Linked DNA regions of Homo sapiens: all the other regions are linked to region 1. The links are contacts of gene promoters, found by promoter capture Hi-C in blood cells and fetal thymus (Javierre and others, 2016). All regions are on one chromosome and are shown on one strand. Each heading gives the region's core, a stretch centred on a gene start or on the middle of the fragment in contact. The rest is flanking DNA. Distances are from core to core; before and after follow the strand shown. Region 1 overlaps FXR1 (FMR1 autosomal homolog 1). Region 2 holds the start of ZNF639 (zinc finger protein 639). Region 3 holds the start of MFN1 (mitofusin 1).

The links. The method cuts DNA at HindIII sites, captures the fragments that hold promoters and counts their contacts. A CHiCAGO score of 5 or more calls a contact.
Region 2: the fragment with the promoter of ZNF639 here is called in contact with a fragment that was not itself captured in region 1 in 1 of 17 cell types (naive CD8 T cells); the score reaches 5.3 in naive CD8 T cells.
Region 3: a contact is called between the fragment with the promoter of MFN1 here and a fragment that was not itself captured in region 1, in 1 of 17 cell types (non-activated CD4 T cells). The highest score is 6.1, in non-activated CD4 T cells.

The regions. Positions count from the first base shown.
Region 1 is chr3:180,914,332-180,917,767 of GRCh38, reverse strand. The region is part of intron 1 of FXR1 (FMR1 autosomal homolog 1); the gene reads right to left. Among named protein-coding and RNA genes, the nearest start is that of FXR1, 3.4 kb to the right of the region's middle. The HindIII fragment of the contact is 4,178 bases long and covers 1-3,436 here.
Region 2 is chr3:179,321,291-179,324,726 of GRCh38, reverse strand. ZNF639 (zinc finger protein 639) reads right to left here and starts at 1,696. Exons shown (of 6, transcript NM_001303426.2): 1 at 1,436-1,696. RefSeq lists an enhancer at 737-786 and silencers at 1,357-1,496, 1,527-1,966. The HindIII fragment of the contact is 4,241 bases long and covers 601-3,436 here.
Region 3 is chr3:179,346,135-179,349,570 of GRCh38, reverse strand. It overlaps MFN1 (mitofusin 1), which reads right to left and starts at 1,862. Exons shown (of 18, transcript NM_033540.3): 1 at 1,761-1,862; 2 at 608-726. The coding sequence starts at 719. RefSeq lists enhancers at 1,071-1,290, 1,624-2,153 and a silencer at 1,411-1,570. The HindIII fragment of the contact is 3,693 bases long and covers 1-2,496 here.

The DNA.
Region 1 (3,436 bases), core at 369-2,868:
TCTATGTTGGCCAGGCTGGTCTCGAACTCCTGACCTCGTGATCCACGCACCTCAGCCCCACAAAGTGCTGGGATTACAGGCATGAGCCACGGCGCCCGGCCTAAGTTGACTTTTTAATAACTGTGATCACCATCAGCAAGATAGAGTAGAAAATCCCAGCCTTCCTTCCCCTCCACGTTTTGCAACTATCTGTGAATGAAAATAAAAGCTGTTGTGATCATTTATTTTGACATCCAGTTAAATCTTCATTACTTAGCATTTTAATGAAAATTATCTTTTTAAATATGCAAAACAACCATTTTAAATTATCTGGAACTATGTATTTTTAAATTAACAGGGTGGCCTAATATTAAGACAATTATCGTTTTTTCAATTACAAATCTCCACAATGAAACCAACTAACAAGATTCTGTACTAACCTTGAAAAGTCAGCATACCCTCTGAACGCAACTTTTTACTATAATTCTATTGGTCATCATTATTAATATATCTATGCATAATTTAGATTACGCTCAAATTCCACTTAATATTAAATCAAGCTAAACAGGGAATTATAGAAATATAGTACTTTGAGATTTGTTTTGTAGACAGTTACACGGTGGAAGCAGACAGCTCTAAAAGTAATTAACTCTGGCCAGGCGCGGTGGCTCACGCCTGTATTCCCAGCACCTTGGGACGCCGAGGCGGACAGATGGAGGCCATCCTGGAGATCGAGAACATCCTGGCCAACATGGTGAAACTCCGTCTCTACTAAAAATACAAAAAATTAGCTGGGCGTGGTGGTGCGTCCCTGAAATACCAGCTACTCAGGAGGCTGAGGCAGGAGAATCGCTTGAACCACTGAGTCAGAGGTTGCAGCCAGCCAAGATTGCACCACTGCACTCCAGCCTGGTGACAGAGCAAGACTCCGTCTCAAGAAAACAAAAAAATGTAACTCTACCTTCTGCAGAAAGTGACTGAAATCTCAGAGCTTACAGGTTCCCTTCGAACATCATGGAAACTTTCCTATGAGCCAGAAACTGAGTGACTTACTTCCAACTTCTATTTAAAATTATACTCATGGTCGGGCGTGGTGGCTCACACCTGTAATCCCAGCACTTTGGGAGGCCGAGGAGGGCGATCATTTGACGTCAGGAGTTCGAGGCCAGCCTGGCCTACACAGTAAAACCCCGTCTCTACTAAAAATACAAAAATTAGCCGGCCATGTTAGCACATGCCTGTTGTCCCAGCTACCTGGGAGGCTGAGGCAGGAGAATCACTTGAACCTGGGAGGTGGAGGTTGCAGTGAGCCGAGATCGCACCACTGCGCTCCCACCACTGTGCTCCCACCCGGGCAAAAGAGCAAGATTCTGTCTCAAAAAATAAAAATAAAATGAAATTATACTCAGCCCAAGGCCATACAAATTGCAATGCTATTACAAAGACTAATATATATTTATACATCAGTTAAAAAGCACTTTAATGATGCAAATGAGCCGGAGGTTTCTGTGGGGTAATGGAACGTTCTGAAGGAAGACTGTGGCGGTGGTTACACAACTCTGTAAATACACTGTCATTCAACTGTACACTTAAAAAAGGTTGTTTTATAGAATATACATTCTACCTCATTAAAACTTTCTTTTTCAAGACACCTTAAATGTCCAGTAGTATAAAACCTAAGATGCTACTTTAGGTATGAGAAGTACAAAAGTACAAAGCCTATAATGTTATTTTATATAACAGCATAGCCCACCAACAAATGCTTAATTAACATCTTCCCATTCTCTCTCATCCCCGCAGATTTATAGGGCTACGAACATGCACAAATCAAGTTTCTAATATCTCTAACTATAGAGCCACTGTTAAATGCAGAACAATGTATTTAGCATGCCACCATTTGTGTACATACTATTTTTTAAAGGCTACCCTAATTTTAGGTAAAATATTCAGATCTTCAGCGTTTCACTGGTTCCAATTAATTTGTGAAATGAAGTTTCAGTTCTACTACAAAAACTTTAATCAAAGTCTACAGAGTACTGCCTCAAGGCATGATAACTGACTTTGAAACTCATCAATGGCAATTCACACTTACGGCCAAATGTGTGTCTTCTGCCTATACGGGGTAAGAGGAGGGGAAAAAAGGGAAATTCAGATCACCTGTACATTGAAAAACCACCAAAAAAAACCAAAGAAATACACTAAAATGTTAACAGCTCTCATCTCAAGGCAACTTCTAGTTTTTGCTGAGTTCCAAAATTACCTCAGTGACCATGTATTATCTTCTAAATTGGAAAAAAACTAATTAAAATTAAATTGCTTCTACGCTAAATGGAAGCCGGACTCAAAACACTACACAATATAGTGTACGATTCTATATACGTAACGTTCTGAATAAGAAAAACTATGGGGACAGAAAACACTCTAGAAGCTGGGGTTGAGGAATGGTTGACTGAAAAGGGCATGACGGAAATTTGGGGGCTATGAATCTTGATAAATGCTGACACCACCACAGTTAAAGTGACAGTTAATCTTGATAATTGTCAGCATTTATCAAGATTCATAACCGTACACCAAAAAAGGCTTATTTTACTGTATGTAAATTAACATTAACTTTTACATTCTAATGAATAAAAAGCAATAAACTTCTGTGCAATAAGCCAATGGTTTTCAAGTCAGCAGTTTAATAGGATAAAAATATACTGGGGATCACAGAACTACTTCAAGCCCCTCATGTTAGACAGAGAGATTTGTTCAGGGGTCCATTGTTAGATAATGGTAAGGTGAAGTACAGACCTAGAATTCTCATCTGTTTACTTCAAATCCAGGACTCTTTTCCACTCCGCCATTCTCATTCTTCCAGAGTTCTGAAGACCACAGTTTCCACAAAGTGCATATGCAAGTGGATTATGGCTGGACATAAAATTCCAAATGTTCAAGCGTACATGATTTCAGTGCACACACAGGTGGCTAGTGTCCTTTCCAACCTTTGTCAAAGTACCAACTCACTTTGTGAGGCAAAATGAGTAATGGAGTCAAAGTCTAAGTAGAAACAAGCAGTAGATTGTAGATATGTATAGAGATCAATTATAAATACTTCAGAGTTCCAAAATGGGGACATTTGATTCATTGTGAATTGACTGGAAAAAAAAAATACCGTGAGAAACCAAAGTAAGACTGCAAACAATCTTTACTAAAATTACCTTCACCTTATTAAAAAAAGGAAAAAATATCTTGCATAGCAGGCTATTGACAAATATACTTTGCTAAAAATAGTTGTCTACCACATGCATGATGCAGAACCATGAAATAAAGCAAAATAATCACTTTATTTTTTCCAATATGCAAGAAAAAATGCATACCTCCCTTATACAAGAACTACAGGGCCAAATAGTGAGAATTTAAAACTTTTCGGGAAAGGGGTGGGGGGTGATGCAAAACGACTTATCTACAATTGATA
Region 2 (3,436 bases), core at 447-2,946, 1.6 Mb after region 1:
GCAAGCTGGCCTGGATTCAGGCTGTTAGGTGAGAGGAGGAGGCACACGGATCAGGAAGGGTCTGACTCCTACTTAGGGCCGAACGATAACCAAATGTCTATCGGACTTCCTTTCAGCACAATGGTGATGCCTACTCAAGACCAAAAATGCTAACCATCCTTCATTTTAGCAATCATTTTTATGTGCCTTTTGTGTGCATAACAGCCTTGAAAAAACTTAGCTTTCTACTCAAGGATGTCATAAACATTTGCTCACTAGTCTTCTTAGCAGGAAGATTCTGAATCACAAGCAACCTATCACAGTCCCCCCTCCCTCTGAAATACAAACGACATATGTAACACGTGTCACTGCAGAAAAATCAGAAAAATGTTTAAAAATTTTTTATATCACCTAGAAACCAACATCTTTCCACCTGTCATTTTTTTCAACCAACAAGAAAGTCTATGCACAAAATAGAATACATACAACAGGCAGTCAGCAATCATCAAATAGATAAACGTTTCAAAAGGCCTTTCATGCAATGTATATTCTTCCTAATTGCTGTAAGACGTCTTTACAGTAAATAACTCCATTTTTAACGAGTTTAAAAAGAGTTAAGCTTTCTTTTTCGTTCTCATTAAAATAAGCATATGCTTTAAATTGTAAAAGAATTGAAACAAAAACATGTTGCAGGAGAGCCTGAACTAGAATCCACTACATGTCCAACGTGGAGGCAGTCTTTACTGCAATATCACACGGTCACTAAATACTTGATTCGCTATTTTTCAGTCCGGCATAAATCTTTCTCTTCGAAAAAAACAAAAAAGGCATAAACTGCTTCAAATGATTCGTTTCCCTAGACAGTACTTAAAGACAAAACCAAAAAAGGGGGTTTCTAAGCACCGTCACACGAGTGAGGCGACTCTCAGGCTGGAGGCTTTGGGCGCCAGCATCGACGCCTGCTCTCCGCGGCTACAACTCGTTGCGCGAGCCCGGGGATTCGCCGCCGGAGGTCACGAAGCCGCCGGGCAGGGCCGCAGCGCCAGCGAGGACCCAGGATCGTCCCGAGCCCGGACGCAGCCAGACAAATGCCCGTCGGAGGCGCAGGGCAGAAGTCCCTGGGACTTAGCCGCCTCCACCCCGGCGCCACGCACCAGCTTCGCCCGGGCCCAGAAGCCGGCGCCAAGGAGACTTCCAAGCCCCGACACCAAAGGTTCCGTAAAGACAACGGCAGCAGGGGGCCGAGGGGAGCCCGGCCAAGGCGTCCTGCGCAGGGGGTGGAACTGCCTTCGGGATGGGGGAGGGGAACGCCATCCCGCCATATAACGAAGGCAGAGTTTCCGTATAAAGGGAGCTCCGGTCTCTCCCGCCCTCTCCCGTTAGAAGATGCGCCCGCACGCCCGCGTCCCCTGGAGCAGTCCAGCGCCCGACCCACCCGCTCCTCCCTCACACTCACCAGTCAGTCCCCCGAGGCCCTCCCGGCCGGCCCACGCAGAGGCGGCGGCGGCCGAGAGCGCAGGCGGAGGGGCCGCGCGGTCCTTCCCGCGGACGCACGGCGGCGGGCAGCGCTGCTCCGGCCCTAGCGCTCCCGGACGCTGTGCTGGGCCGACCCCTCTCCCTCCCCGCGCGCCCCACGCCCTGAGCGCCAGGCCCCTGGCCTAGGCTCCGCGGCCGCACTGCCCTGGCCGCCACGCTCCGCGCCTGCGCCGCGCACCTCAGGGGCCCGCCGAGAGGGCGGGGAGGTGACGAGGTGAGGTGGGGGCAGGGAGCGGGCTGCGCGAACGCACCGCACACGCGGCCTGGGAGGGACCACCGGCCCGCAGCCCCGGGGGAGGCCCAGCGGCCCGCGCCCCCTGCCGGAGGCCTTGCGCCGCCGCAGTCTCCTTCTGGGCGGGGAAGAGCCCCTCCCGAGCCCCGAGGGCGATCCCACCCTCTAGGATTACTCCACGCCAGGCGGCCAGCGAATTTATCCCGCCCGCCTCCACCGCCCCTTCAAGCCCTGGGGAACTGGGAGAAACGTGGCGCGCAGCGGCACCTTTCCCACGCTGCTCCTCAAGGGAAAGGACGCGAGTGGTCTTGCCCAGGTTAGGCAAGGCAGATGGCATCTCAGACCCCGAAGTGTGCCAGCCGCCTGTTGGGGACAGAGAGGCCGAGGACCTCGTCACGGTTTTACTGAGGCCACACCAGAGAACCACCTAGGGCTAGGATGCTGCCCTCAGGGCAAGAGGGTGAAACCTGAAGACTGCGAGTCGTTGTTGAGTTTCACCCGATTCCTTGGCTCGAGAAATAGTGGAATGAATGAGGAGTTAAGGGGGACTGGACTCGACGATTTAAGTCCTTTCTCGACTTTGACTTTCTTTGAGCAGCTGTAGAAATGATTAAATTACACGAGCATAAATAAATTTGTGAACATGGTTCCATAAATGATCTCTGTGCAAGTGTGGTGATATGTTTAATTCAGTCCTTTTGACAATGAGTTGAGGTTTTTAGTCACATTTTACAAAATGGAAAAGTAAATGTGTGAGAAGCTAAAGACTGGGTCTTAATTCATTTTGGTAGCCTAAACCCCTGAGGTTCAAACGGTTAAGAGGATGACTGAGAGCCATGTGGATTATCAGGTACCCAAGGTCACTCGGATAGTTAGGGCTGCAATGATGTCTCTTTGTTCACGTCCACTGCTTTTTCTGACAACCACATGCCAATCAACCAATCAATCGCTGGAAAGTAATAATCACAGACTTTACTCTGATCCCTTCACCATCCCCCAGGAGATAAAGCTATATTTGAAAGAGACACTACTTGTTTGTGAGGCTCAGTTTTTATGACCTCCTAAGTTTTATGTGCGTACTCAGCTCAAATAAATGCTCACGAATGCTAGTATGGCCCGAATTAAAGTTCGAAGAAATGTAGAGACATTTTTAAATCCTAGAATAGTTAGTATCTAGCACAGAACCGGGAATCGGTGGAAACCACAAGGGGGTGTCATGCCACCATCTTACCATTTTGCCTTACCACATAGCCTTGTGTCCAACAAAATCTTTATATTTCAAAATGAAGTTTTACTCCAAAACATTTTGTAGTGAAAGTAAACGCACACTCTCCCCAGCATCCCACGTATTGTTTGCACTTAGAGGAGCTTGACTTTGTTTAGATGTTGTTTAACATAGTCACAAATTGCAAGCAATTTCAAGTTCTTGATTAGCTGGAGTGTTTTTCAGTTTCATTTTTGGGTCCCTCTTTTCCTCATCTCCCGCTCCAAGGGAGGGTGATAGCTGGGATAAAACCCTAAAATCTCAAGAGTGCTAAATTGTAGAGTTTGTTAAATACTATTATAAATTTGATTCAGGGCTATTAAAACATCGTTCTTCCAACTTTTTCACACACTTGTAGAATAGCTTAATTTCTCCTTCCTTTCCTTCCTTCCTTTTCTTTTTTTTCTTTTTTCTTTCTCACGGTC
Region 3 (3,436 bases), core at 613-3,112, 1.6 Mb after region 1:
TGCCACTGCACTCCAGCCTGGGCAACAAGACAAGACTCTGTCTCAAAAAAAAAAAAAAGAAGTATTCCCTAGTAAGACATGACATTCCTCATCACCTTTAACAGTTATGAAACTCCTTTTTCCCCCTTTCCACTGCAATTCAGCCTCATTTGAGAGAATGAGATATGTCTGAGGTCTTGGCTTAACTGCTAAATTGGGGAGGAGACAAGTATAATGGTTAAATGTGGACTGCCTGATTTTTTGTCTGGGCACTTATTAGCTGTGTGATCTTGGGCAAACTGTTTAACTTTTCTTTGACTTCGTCTCTTCATCTTTAAAATGACAGATGGTGGTGATGAAAATTAAATGAACTATTAACATAGCTATTTCTCATCACCTAGTGGTGATGAAAATTAAATGAGCTATTAATATACTAAAGTTCTTAGTTGTTATTAATACCATTTAATTTTCCCCTTCTGGAGGTTAGAAAGGGGTTTTATTCATTATGGTACTTCTCATAGTATACAGTATAATGCCCTATACATGTGTTCAATAACTAACGTTGAAAGAATAAGCACTTTTATATATTTTCAACAGTAATTACTTTAAAAACTTAAGAAGAACTAACCTTCAACAAAATGTGATCCTTCAGTAACAAACTCCAGTAACTGGTCAAAGATTGCAGTAATCGCCTTCTTAGCCAGCACAAAGTGCTTCAGTGGAGAAACAGGTTCTGCCATTATGCTACTAGAGGGAGATAAAGTTAGAAAAGCACCAACTAAAGTGGATGATAGACATGCAAACTGATGACACACCAGTGACATTCATCAACTCCCCAATGAAATAAATTATGCTGGCAAAATGTTTTTAGGTAATTCTTTTTTGGGAGTGTTCTAGTCAGACAGTTAGAGACGACTTTTGAATGATATTTCACTAAAATAAGTGAAATCTATTAGCCAAAATCTTGGTTGCAATTTCTACTCAATTTCCCTTTGGTGAAGACGAAACTAATTGTGACTAAGTTTGTCACTGCATGTGACTCTAAAGTACATCAGGGAACAGGGTTAGTGAGGCGAAGCCAAATTCACACACAATAAGGAAGTTACTAAGTTTCTCAACCTGAAGCTCTAGGTGAGTAGGAGTGGATATGCAGAGTGAGGAAATAAAATTCTAAGATCACAATGTGAGGCTGACATTTAGAAAGGTAAGGCTTCAAGAGGGCATTAACGCTTCCAGCCAAAGTACCAGAAACTTCAAGGACTATAAGTTTAAGAAAGCATAGGTGGTTTCTCAAGAAAAAGACACCAAAGACAAACAATCACGGTCTAATCCTGGTGTGTACATGGAAAGGAACAGTGGCCATAAAGAAGGCGGATTCTTCCAGAGAGTCAAGAAATGACCGCGCGAAGGAGCTGCGTGGGAAAAGCCGGGTGGGGGTAACGCCCCGGTCCGGCCGGTGTGAACACCTGCCTTAGAAAAGGCCTCCCACCTTCCCACACCGGGCGCAGGAGTCAGGGCCAGAGCCCACCCCCGCCCCGCGCACGACCGTCTAGGTCCGGATCCCCCAATCCCACCCCCGAGCACGGCCTCGTGGGCTCCGTGGGCTCGACTCGGCCGCCAGCCCCGTTCGCCCGACAGCTGGCTCTCTCCTTTCCCACAGGACCGCGGCGGGCGGCGCCTCGTCACACAACGCTGCATGCACGACTCCCGCCCCCGGTCCCCAGTCGCTCGAAGGTCACTCCGAGCGTCGCAAACGTGCTGTCGAGGCAGCCGGCACTCACAGTCTCCGCTCCAACTATCACCCGGCAACAGCAACTCGGCCACAGATGCCAAACTGCCTCATCTTCCCGAGAAGTTAAAGGCGGAGAGGAGGCAGGGGGAGTGGCAAAGGGCGGTCACTTCCGGCCTCTTGCCTCCTCTGTTCTGTTTGGCTCCGTGGCCGGAAGCGCATCTATGCCAGGCGCCATTTTCCTTAAGGGCAGAAGGCAAGGTTTGTTGTGGGCAGAGACTGCTACCAGGAGAGTGGTTTTCCGTTCCCCCTTCCAACTTCTTCCCCTCCCTTCTCCCCTCAAAGTGTCCAAGTATCTGCCCAGCCTAGGCTTAGCTAGCTTCCAATGATGGTGGTGGCTGACGCCTATAATCCCAGCACTTTGGGAGACCGAAGGGGTGGGATATCTCTTAAGCCCAGGAGTTCGAGACTAGGCTGGGCAACATAGGGAGGCGCCCCCCCCCCCGCCCCCGACCCTCTTCCTCCTCCCCGTCTCTACAAAATTAAAAAATGAAAAATTAAAAAAATTTTAAAAACTTAGCGAGGCGTGGTGGCACACACCTGTGGTCCCAGCTACTTCGGAGACTGAGGCGGGGGGATTGTTTGGGCCCGGGGCTGCAGCGAACTGTGATTTATCGTGCCACTGCACTCCAGCCTGGGCAAGAGAGCGAGACATTTTTTCAAATAAATAAATAAATAAATAAAAGAAAAGAAATCCAGATCGTATTACTTTCCGAACTTAAAAAGCTTTCCAGGCCGGGCGGGGTGGCTCACGCCTGTAATCCCAGCACTTTGGGAGGCCGAGGCGGGCGGATCACAAGGTCAGGAGATCGGGAGCATCCTGGCTAACACGGTGAACGCCCGTCTCTACTAAAAATACAAGAAGTAGCCGGGCGTGGTGGTGGCGGGCGCCTGTAGTTCCAGCTACTCAGGAGCCTGAGGCAGAGAATTGCTTGAACCCGGGAGGCGGAGGTTACAGTGAGCCGAGATCGCGCCACTGCACTCCAGCCTGGGCGACAGAGCCAGACTCCATCTCAAAAAAAAAAAAAAAAAAAAAAAAAAAAAAAAAAAAGCTTTCCAACAGCTTGCCATTATACTTAAAATTAAAGCTTCGGATGGTAACCGCCCAAGGAAAGCCTTCACCTTGCCCGCTGACTAGCCAGAACTGATACAAGACAGGGGGATTGCAAATAAAGACTTAGTCACGCAAAGCCGGCTGTATGGGAGACTGGAGTTTTATTATTACTGAAATCAGTCTCCCCGAGCAGCACTGGGGAGCAGAATTTTTAAGGACAATTTGGTGGGTTGGGGGAGGCCACTGAGCCAGGAGTGCTGATTGGTCAGGGATGAAATCGCAGGGAGTGGAAGCTGTCTTTCTGCACGAGTCAGTTCCTGGGTTGGGGGACACTAGGTCAGATGAGCCAGTTTATCGGTCTGGGTCGTGCCAGCTAATCCATCAGTTCTGAGCATAGGTAGTCTCAAAGGGAACATTTACTCTGTTTGAATTTTAAAAATCATGATGGTATCCTTTTATTAGTTCTGTACTTAATAATTATATTTAATATAATTACTGCATTTTAAAGCAAGAGTGACATATTACAGGCTATAAATTATAGCACGGTAATTAAATGTTTAATATAGTAAGTAATAAGAAATTTAATCCATTGCTTTTGTGTGTGTGTGGAACAC